3 separate regions of the Homo sapiens genome follow, and all the other regions are linked to region 1. Evidence: promoter capture Hi-C in 16 types of primary human blood cells and fetal thymus (Javierre and others, 2016). All regions are on one chromosome and are shown on one strand. Each heading gives the region's core, a stretch centred on a gene start or on the middle of the fragment in contact. The rest is flanking DNA. Distances are from core to core; before and after follow the strand shown. Region 1 holds the start of HDHD5 (haloacid dehalogenase like hydrolase domain containing 5). Region 2 overlaps BCL2L13 (BCL2 like 13). Region 3 overlaps BID (BH3 interacting domain death agonist).

Region 1 (3,052 bases), core at 65-2,564:
TGCAACTTCTGCTGCCTGGGTTCAAGCGATTCTCCTGCCTCAGCCTCCCGAGTAGCTGGGACTTGAGGCGCCTGCCACCGCGCCTGGCTAATTTTTGCAGTTTTCAGCAGAGACGGGGTTTCACCATCTTGGCTAGGTGGTCTTGAACCCCTGACCTCCTGATCCACTCGCCTCAGTCTCCCAAAGTGCTGGGATTACAGGTGTGAGCCACCGCACCCGGCCCTATTTTATTATTTTTAAAATAGAGAAGGGGTCTCCCTATGTTGCCCAGGCTGGTCTGGAACTCCTGGACTCAAGTTTTCCTCCCACCTTGACCTTCCAAAGTTCTGGGATTACAGGGGTGAGCCACCGCACCCTGGCCTGCTAATGTGTGAGCTAGTGCAGTCTCTGTCCATATCCTCGACTCCCTCTCTGCTAGTGCTAAGTACATTGTAGGGTCCCGCGTTTTTAGCATAGCTATACCTATGAATGGGCCAAAGAATCTGAGGGCATCCTACACATTTCAAACGGTGGGAATGGAGACCTCTTTCCTCCAGCAGAATCTCCCCTCATGACCGGGGGACTACCAGATCCAGCTCTGCTAAGGGCCTCCACGGACGGAGTCGGCTACCTCTCCACTTTCAGTGACCGAAATCCATTCTTTGTTCATTCACCCTTGTGTCTACTCCGGGAAACGCGCAGCGGACACAGTCGTGTTCCCTAAGTGTTTGCTGACTTAGTCATCTGGCCCTCTCTGGAGTAGTCATTTTGTACCTTGTACTACATTCGTGCCTCTACCTCTCCGCAGTGCGCGCGGGGGCGGACTCACGTGCGCAGTCTCCCTATGCGCTGGGAGGGCGTCAGCAGGTTTACAGAAACAATGAAAGACTTAACAATTGGCGCGCGACGAGCGTCCCTTGACTGGCAGGGGCCCAGAGGACCTGAACATCACTAAGGGTCTGCCCCAGCGGCCCGGCCCTGAAGTCAAGGTTGAGACCCCCGGCCCAGACAGTCCGCGAAGCTGAGGGAGGCCGGCCTGGGGCCTGCCGCGCAATGTTACCGGGATCCGCAGGCACAGGGCGATAGTACGGACGCCGCCGCCCAGGCCGTGCCCATTGTGCGCCGCGGCCAGCTCACCGCGATCTCGGTCTAGGAGGCGGCGGGACCCCGCACTTCTTCCTTGCAACGGAGCCCCTTTGGCCTGCGGGTCGAGTTCCATAGGCGCCCGACGGGCTCCGCGCGCTTACAGGACTACAACTCCCGTGATGCCGCGCGCGCCGACCGCTGATTGGCTGTGCAGCGGACGGACTCGCGGGGGGGGGGGGCCGCACGCCGTGCACGTGCGCACGGCGACGGCCGGATGGCTGCGTGGGGCTGTGTGGCTGCGCTCGGCGCGGCGCGTGGGCTTTGCTGGCGGGCGGCGCGCGCGGCTGCGGGGCTCCAGGGCCGCCCCGCCCGCAGGTGCTATGCTGTGGGCCCCGCTCAGGTGAGGACGTCCGGGTTCTGGCCGAGCCACTCGCCACTCAGGGCCGGAGGCGGGGCGGGGAGCCGCGGGGAAGGAGGGGCGGCCGGGCTGGTATCCCAGCCTCCTGGGAACTGCCTGGACCGTCGTCGCGCCCGAGTGCATCGCGTTCTTGCTGGAGGGCGGATGCGCCCTGCCTTCCTCTGACTCGCTGGCGGCCTCGGAAACGCTACTCCCGCGGGAGAGCGCTCGTGGGACGGCCTGGGCCAGGCTGCTTGTCAGCCCCTGCGCTTCCCGGCAGTTTCCGCGTCCCTGTTTTCCCTGCGCGTCTTCTGATTTCCACCATGAGGACGTTTGGGTCGTGATTTTCATCTGCATGTGGAGGAAACTGGGCCGCGCGCCGGGAGCCGCGCCTGCGGGTGCTCCGCCCCCAAGTGCCTGTGGGTTTGGTGCGGGCCTTGGGTTCAGTTCAGCTCGCTGTGACCTCGACTGAGCGCTGGAGGCTCCGCGGGCGGGAGCAGGAGGGCTGGAGCCGGCGCCTGCTGTGTGCCCGGCGCGGTAGTGATGTGTGAGCCTCCCCGCAACTTCTGAGAAGGTGTGACCTTGTGTGGTCAGGAAGCCGAAGCTTGACGAGTTTTCAAGTACGTTTTCTCAGGTCCTGCAGCTGGGAGACGGCACAGGACACTAAACCAGGTTGGTCAGATCCACGGCTCTCACGCTCCCTTGGGCCGTTTTGCCTTTTCTGGAAAAAGGAATCACTTTGTCTTCTAAACGCACAAGTAATATTTTACATTAACATACGGATTTCACAGTAATCCTTGCATTTTTTTTTTTTAGACGGCATCTCTGTCACCAGGTTGGAGTGCAGTGGCGCAATCTCTGCTCACTGCAACCTCCGCCTCCCGGGTTCAAGCGATTCTTCTGTCTCAGCCTCCCGAGTAGCTGGGATTACAGGCACCCGCCACCACATCCGGCTAATTTTTGTATTTTTAGTAGAGACAGGGTTTCACCATGTTGGCCAGGCTGGTCTCGAACTTTTGACCTCAGATGATCCTCACATCTTGGCCTCCCAGAGTGGTGAGATTACAGGCATGAGCCAGTGCACCCGGCCAAATTACTTGCATGAAAAAAACACATAGTGCTTACTTTGTGCCAGGCACTATTCTAAGTACTTCACAGTTATTCGTATAATCTTTATAACAACTCCGAGGAAAGTACTATTATTAGTCTTCCCATTTTATAGATGGAGCAGAGGCACAGAGAGGTTAAGCAGCTTACCCAAGGGCACACAGCTGGTAAGTGGCAGAATCTGGAACTCAGGTAGTCTGGTGCCAGAGTCTAAGCTCTTAACAGCTGTATTATTTTTATGATTTTTAAATATGGAGCAGCTAAGGTTCAAAGCAGCTGAGTGACTTGGCCAGTGTCACATAGCTAGACGTGACCAAGGTGGAAGTTTGAAATTAGAATATGTTGATAAAAGGACTTACAAACTGTCAGGATATAAATATAAGGAAATATCGCCCTTATTTATAACTGTTGTATTGGCTCTAGCATCTCTGCAGAGTCCCGAAATGTCTCCAAGTGACTCTTCCGGTAGAGCAGAAAAAGAAG
Region 2 (2,849 bases), core at 328-2,827, 570 kb before region 1:
AGAGTCCTTTGAATGTTACGATCTTGTTTTCAAAACCTGGAGTCAAACCAATTAAGTATGGACTTAACAAAGACAATTGATGATGTGAAATGATACCACCTGTCAAGGGCATAGTTACCATGTGGATAGAAAGATGAGTCCACTGATTATCTTCAAATCCCATGTATTCTCTCTAGCACGTTGCTTCTGACAGAAAGAATAACTCACAGATTTGAAGTTTGTTCCTTTCCCCTGATGAAGAGTAGATTGGCCAAAAGGTAGATGACAGGAAGGAAGAGGAGCCAGAATGACCCACAGTGATCAGTTCAGCAGTGCAGAGCGGCAGTGCAGAGGCTCATGGAACTCACACGGAAAAAGGAAACACATGCTGCTTAAAATGCACGATAACTTAATTATCCAAATTACCATTCAATTCCGGTATTTTTGAGATGAAAGCATTTGAGCCAACACTAAATTGACCTTAATTAAGGAATGAGGTAGGAAGAGGCACTTTTAATCTGGAGGAAGAAATAAATGGAAGACTGTAATAGGAAAAATACAGGTCTAGGAAAAAAATAATTTTTTTCCTTTGATGCTGGCCAAGGACCCCTCTACATAATACAGTTCTCCTGCTGGAAAGCATCAGGGCAAACAGAGTTATTCCAAACTCTGCAACAGGGAAGACTGTACTTTGACCTTCTTTTCCTGGGGAAAGGGAACAACTAGTAATCTTTAAATGTCAAAACTTTTCTTCTAAATAGTACATTCATTAACCAGTTTCTTCTGGTGGTGCAAAGAACACTCACCACAGTGAGCAATACCACTATTCAATTTCCCCTTTGGAGAGGTGACAGCGGGGTAGAATCACCTGGAGTCAGCTGCTAGTCTTTAACTGATGACAAGGCCTTGCAAATACCCCTGAGAACAATTTCACTCTGAGCTCACAGGGAAGCAGCAGTCTGGTGTGGGCTCCTGTGGTGTAACCATCAAATGTGGAAGACCTGATGGTGTTAGTGTGTGGGGATGCCGGGCTGAAATTCAACAGCCTTGCAAAAAGAAAGGGAAGATGGGATGTGTTAATATTGTAGTGGCATGCACTTTCCAGCTCTCCATGGAGCTCTCTTTATATATGAGGTAATTGAATGTCACTATTCTGTACCATACAGCAGGTATTATCTAGCCAAGGTTATAATTACCATGAAGTGCTGTGGAATGTAGTAGGAGGCTTTTCACTGGGAAGATCCTCCAGGAGCTGACGTACTTGTGGCCATACCTGGTCAACCCTCCTAAGTCCCCAACCTCTTTGTCTGTCCAGAGGCCAAGCAATGCTTCCAGGTATTCCCCTACTTCACTCCACAGCCCCACCCTTATGATGGCATACACAGGGGAGAAGGGACGAACTCGAACAAACAGAAAAAGACCAAGAAATGCATCGTGGTGCTGTCTTCACCCCCCTCATTTAGCACTTTGTGATAACTGCTGGGACAGATTGCCTAACCTTGTCTACAAGCAAAAATATTTAATCAAGAAAGCTAATGAAAGCTCATCGGCAATGACTGTGAATTCTGTAACCACAAAGCATCTCACTCAATGTCTACAGGGAAAACAGCTACATAATTGGAAGCTGAGACCAGTCCTGGACCTAACCCTCACTCTTGTTTTTTTGTAGTAGAACATGCTTAATGTTTAAGTGAGCCTATATGGTGCCTTTGTACAAATTAGAAAAATACTTCGCTTCTCCCAGAGCCCACAGCATGGTGAGCAGAGCACAGGCTGCACGTCGGAATTTGTCCCCAGTCAGTCCTTATGCAGTAAACAACTGGCGCAACTGTTTGCAGGGGACCTGCCAATACTGCTTTGCAGTGCCAGGAAAATGATAAAAACCGGCAAAATCATTGCCTTGCCTCGCCTATGCTTGAGGACGTTAGAAAAACTAACTCTGGGCCGGGCACGGTGGCTCACGCCTGTAATCCCAGCACTTTGGGAGGCCAAGGCGGGTGGATCACGAGGTCAGGAGATCGAGCCCATCCTGGCTAACATAGTAGAGACCCTGTCTCTACTAAAAATACAAAAAAAGCAGCCGGGTATGGTGGCGGGCGCCTGTAGTCCCAGCTACTTGGGAGGCTGAGGCAGGAGAATGGCGTGAGCCCGGGAAGCGGAGCTTGCAGTGAGCCGAGATTGTGCCACTGCACTCCAGCCTGGGCGACAGAGCAAGGCTCTGTCTCAAAAAAAAAAAAAAAAAAAAAAAAGGAAAAAGAAAAACTAACAAACTCTGATTAGGTTCTTCATTCTGTAATATGGGAATAAAAGGAATACAAACAGCTATTAGAACTGTGAAGGTGAAATAAGGTATGTGAGAGCACTAGAACCGTCTCTGGCATGTTATAAATGCTCAACTAGTATTTGCTAAAATATAATTATCGACATGAATTTTTTTTAGGAAAAATTATACACCCTAAACTCAAATGAATGTCATAATTGAGAGATTATCACTAAGGGCAGGTTTTGGTGCACCAGAGAAGAGGAAACATTATTCTGGTATCCAGTATGTCGCTGAGATGTTAAACGAGATAATGCTTGTGTGGGAATTTGGGCAGAAGCTCTAGGTCGTGTCTGTTAGCAATCAGATAGCCTACAAGGCCGTCTTGATGGGTATGATCACCACCTCAAATTCTTGGAAAGATAAGTTTGTGTGGAAAGATGTAAGAAATTAAGAGAAAGGGAAAATTCTTAGCTACAAAACGTTTTATTTCTATAAAACATCTCTTAAAATAATTCAAACACTGAAATGTCCACATCTCATACCTTTCAGGAGAAAGGCAAGGAGACTACTTGCCTTACTGTCATATTATTGAGGGAATCAGCGCAAA
Region 3 (2,773 bases), core at 274-2,773, 610 kb before region 1:
GGGATTGAGCTTCTCTGGGGTTCTGGTGTTTTTGTAGGGAGAGCCATCTGGGGTCAGGGCTGGGGTGGGGACAGCAGGAGAACAGGACAGGAGTGGCAACCCAGGGCCAGGGAAGGGAGTAGGCAGGGGTAGCATATGGGGGTGGAAAGAAAGGGGCCAGTGGCACGAAGGGCCCTGGGAGGCAGCAGCGTGTCCCTCCTGGGGGTAAGTCCAGGAAGGTGGCCATCCCCGAGGAGCTCCGTTCCTGTGACAATGAGGCTAGGCCTGAGGGCACCGGAGGCCAGCGGGCAAGTGCACACCCCCAAGCCTGGCGGGGCACCACGTGACCAGGCCTGGTATTGGGACTGGGAGTGGCTCCTGCACCAGCTGGCATCTGCCTAGAGACAGGAAGGTGGGTGCCTCCTGGGTTCAGCTGGGAACTCTGAGCTTTGGGTGCTGGAGGTCACTGCGTTTGGGATGGCTGCCTCCTGGACCCAGCTGCCTCTGTGTGTGGAGTCAGTAAGGCACCGTCCTGGCTGCGGAACTGAGGCAGGCATGCTATGAGAAGATAAAATTGCCTTAACAACTGTCCCCAGGATCCTTCCAGCAGGCACTTCCTTGCTGTGCCCTGGAAAAGCGGGGTGGCACTCTGGATGACAGCACAGCCTCAGGGTGCTTCTCTGTGGCCCACACACCCTTCCGGCCTGATGGCCACGTCCGTTCCTGTTTACCCAAGCCCCACTTCCCCTGAAATCCAGGCAGGGAGAGATGGGGCCTGGCTGTGAGAAACCTGGCCCCAGGTGTCACCATTTCCCCAAAAGCCTTGTTTCTCCCTCTGGGTATCCCTGAGGACCCCTGCAGACATCCAGCCCCAAACCCGGCCAACTGAGCAGGGAGCCCAGCTAGGGGCCTTTGTGGAAGGGTCACCCGTGTACTCACACCAGCAGCCAGCCGCTCCTGGGTCATCAGCCCCTCCATAGGAGAGGGGAGGCGTTTCTGCCAGGGGCTGGGTGGCATTTCTGCCAGGCAGGGGCATGGCGTTGGCACGGCACAGGCCCTGCTGTGCTCTGTGAGGCTCTGCCCTGACTTGGACTCTGCCTGGGATGTGGTGAAAGCCTTGTTCTTTATTTATTTAGTTATTATTTATTTATTTATTTATTTATTTATTTATTTTTGAGACGAGTCTCACTCTGTCGCCCAGGCTGGAGTGCAGTGGCACGATCTCTGCTCCCTGCAAGCTCCGCCTCCCAGGTTCACGCCATTCTCCTGTCTCAGCCTCCTGAGTAGCTGGGACTACAGGCGCCCACCACCACGCCCGGCTAATTTTTTTTTTTTTTTTTTTTGAGACGGAGTCTCGCTCTGTCGCCCAGGCTAGAGTGCAGTGGCGCGATCTCGGCTCACTGCAAGCTCTGCCTCCCGAGTTTCACGCCATTCTCCTGCCTCAGCTTCCCGAGTAGCTGGGACTACAGGTGCCCACCACCATGCCGGCTAATTTTTTCTATTTTTAGTAGAGAAGGGGTTTCACCGTGTTAGCCAGGATGGTCTCGATCTCCTGACCTCGTGATCCACCCGCCTCGGCCTCCCAAAGTGCTGGGATTACAGGCGTGAGCCACCTTGCGGCCCAGCCTTGTTCTTTATGACAGAGTCTACAGAGAGTTCAGGGAGGGGCGGACCAGGAGGCTCACCAGAGGCTCACCAGGGATTCTGGAGTAGCTGAGGGACACCTGCCTTCCCCTGCCATCCACCATGCCCCACCCAGAAGCCCAGGGCCTGGGCAGGGGAGGGAGGCAGGACTCCCGGGTCACAAAGACCTGGAGCATAGGGGTCCACTGACTTCTGGGGCCTGTGGTGGAGCCTCCGACCTCTGGGAGGGGGCCCCAGTCACCTGAAGAGGCTCTTGCCTCCTCATGTCTCCTCCTGCTGGCTGCCTTTTCAAAAACCGTTTGATTGAGACATACTGCACATGCCATAAAATTCACCCATCAAAGGGCACAGTTCAGTGGCTTAGTATATACACGGTGTGCGACCGTCACCACCGCCTACAGGCAGAACATTTCAGTAACCCAAAGAGAAGCTCCAGACACACTGGTGGCTGCTCCGCAGCCCTGGCAGCCCTAATCTTTCTGTCTATGGAGTTGCACATTTAGGACATTTCATACTAATGGAATCACACACTACGTGGTCTTTTGTGACTGACTTCTTTCATGTAGCATATTTTCAACTCATGTTAACTGCTGTAACTCATGTTACAGTAGGTGTCAATGTTTCCTTCATTTTTTATTTTGTATTTTTTGTAGAGACAGGGTCTCACTGTGTTGCCCAGGTTTGCCTCAAACTCCTGGGCTCAAGTGATCCTCCTGCCTTGGCCTCCCACAGTGCTGGCCTTTTCTTGGCTACCAGAGGCAAATTCAAGCAGCAATGGAACTTTTCACTTCGCGGACGCTGTTTCTCCGTTTTCTCTCCGTGTCTCTGTTTCCCCTGCCCCTGACTCTGTGTTCTGTTGGTTTCGGGCTTACCCATGGCTTGGTGGCATCAGTGATTGAGCATTGGTTTGTGGTCATATTGTTTTGCTCATCTTTGTAGGCGGATGACAGAGATCAGTTCTCTGTGGTCAGATACGGAGAATCTGGATGATCAGACTTCGTTCTCTGTGTCCTTAGCCTCTTTTGAGCTCAATTCAATTCAGAATTTTGTGTCCACCGGGAAGGATACCTCTTTGACACCTGGTCCAGGGACTTTTCCAGTTTCTGTGTTTACTCTTGCCCTGGGGCTGAAGTTGTAATTCAGAAAGGCC

Evidence for each region. Contacts are between HindIII fragments. The CHiCAGO score rates a contact against its expected background, and 5 or more counts as called.
Region 2: a contact is called between a fragment that was not itself captured here and the fragment with the promoter of HDHD5 in region 1, in 1 of 17 cell types (neutrophils). The highest score is 7.1, in neutrophils.
Region 3: a fragment that was not itself captured here is called in contact with the fragment with the promoter of HDHD5 in region 1 in 1 of 17 cell types (neutrophils); the score reaches 5.2 in neutrophils.

The regions. Positions count from the first base shown.
Region 1 is chr22:17,157,539-17,160,590 of GRCh38, reverse strand. It overlaps HDHD5 (haloacid dehalogenase like hydrolase domain containing 5), which reads left to right and starts at 1,314. Exons shown (of 8, transcript NM_033070.3): 1 at 1,314-1,465. The coding sequence starts at 1,340. It overlaps HDHD5-AS1 (HDHD5 antisense RNA 1), which reads right to left and starts at 1,202. Exons shown (of 2, transcript NR_024483.1): 1 at 754-1,202. RefSeq lists a silencer at 1,303-1,632. The HindIII fragment of the contact is 6,885 bases long and covers 1-2,068 here.
Region 2 is chr22:17,730,480-17,733,328 of GRCh38, reverse strand. BCL2L13 (BCL2 like 13) reads right to left here. Exons shown (of 7, transcript NM_015367.4): 7 at 2,474-2,849. Among named protein-coding and RNA genes, the nearest start is that of MIR3198-1, 32 kb to the left of the region's middle. The HindIII fragment of the contact is 3,564 bases long and covers 1-2,849 here.
Region 3 is chr22:17,767,422-17,770,194 of GRCh38, reverse strand. The region is part of intron 1 of BID (BH3 interacting domain death agonist); the gene reads left to right. Among named protein-coding and RNA genes, the nearest start is that of MIR3198-1, 4.5 kb to the right of the region's middle. RefSeq lists enhancers at 1,622-1,681, 1,752-1,801, 1,822-1,871. The HindIII fragment of the contact is 6,348 bases long and covers 1-2,773 here.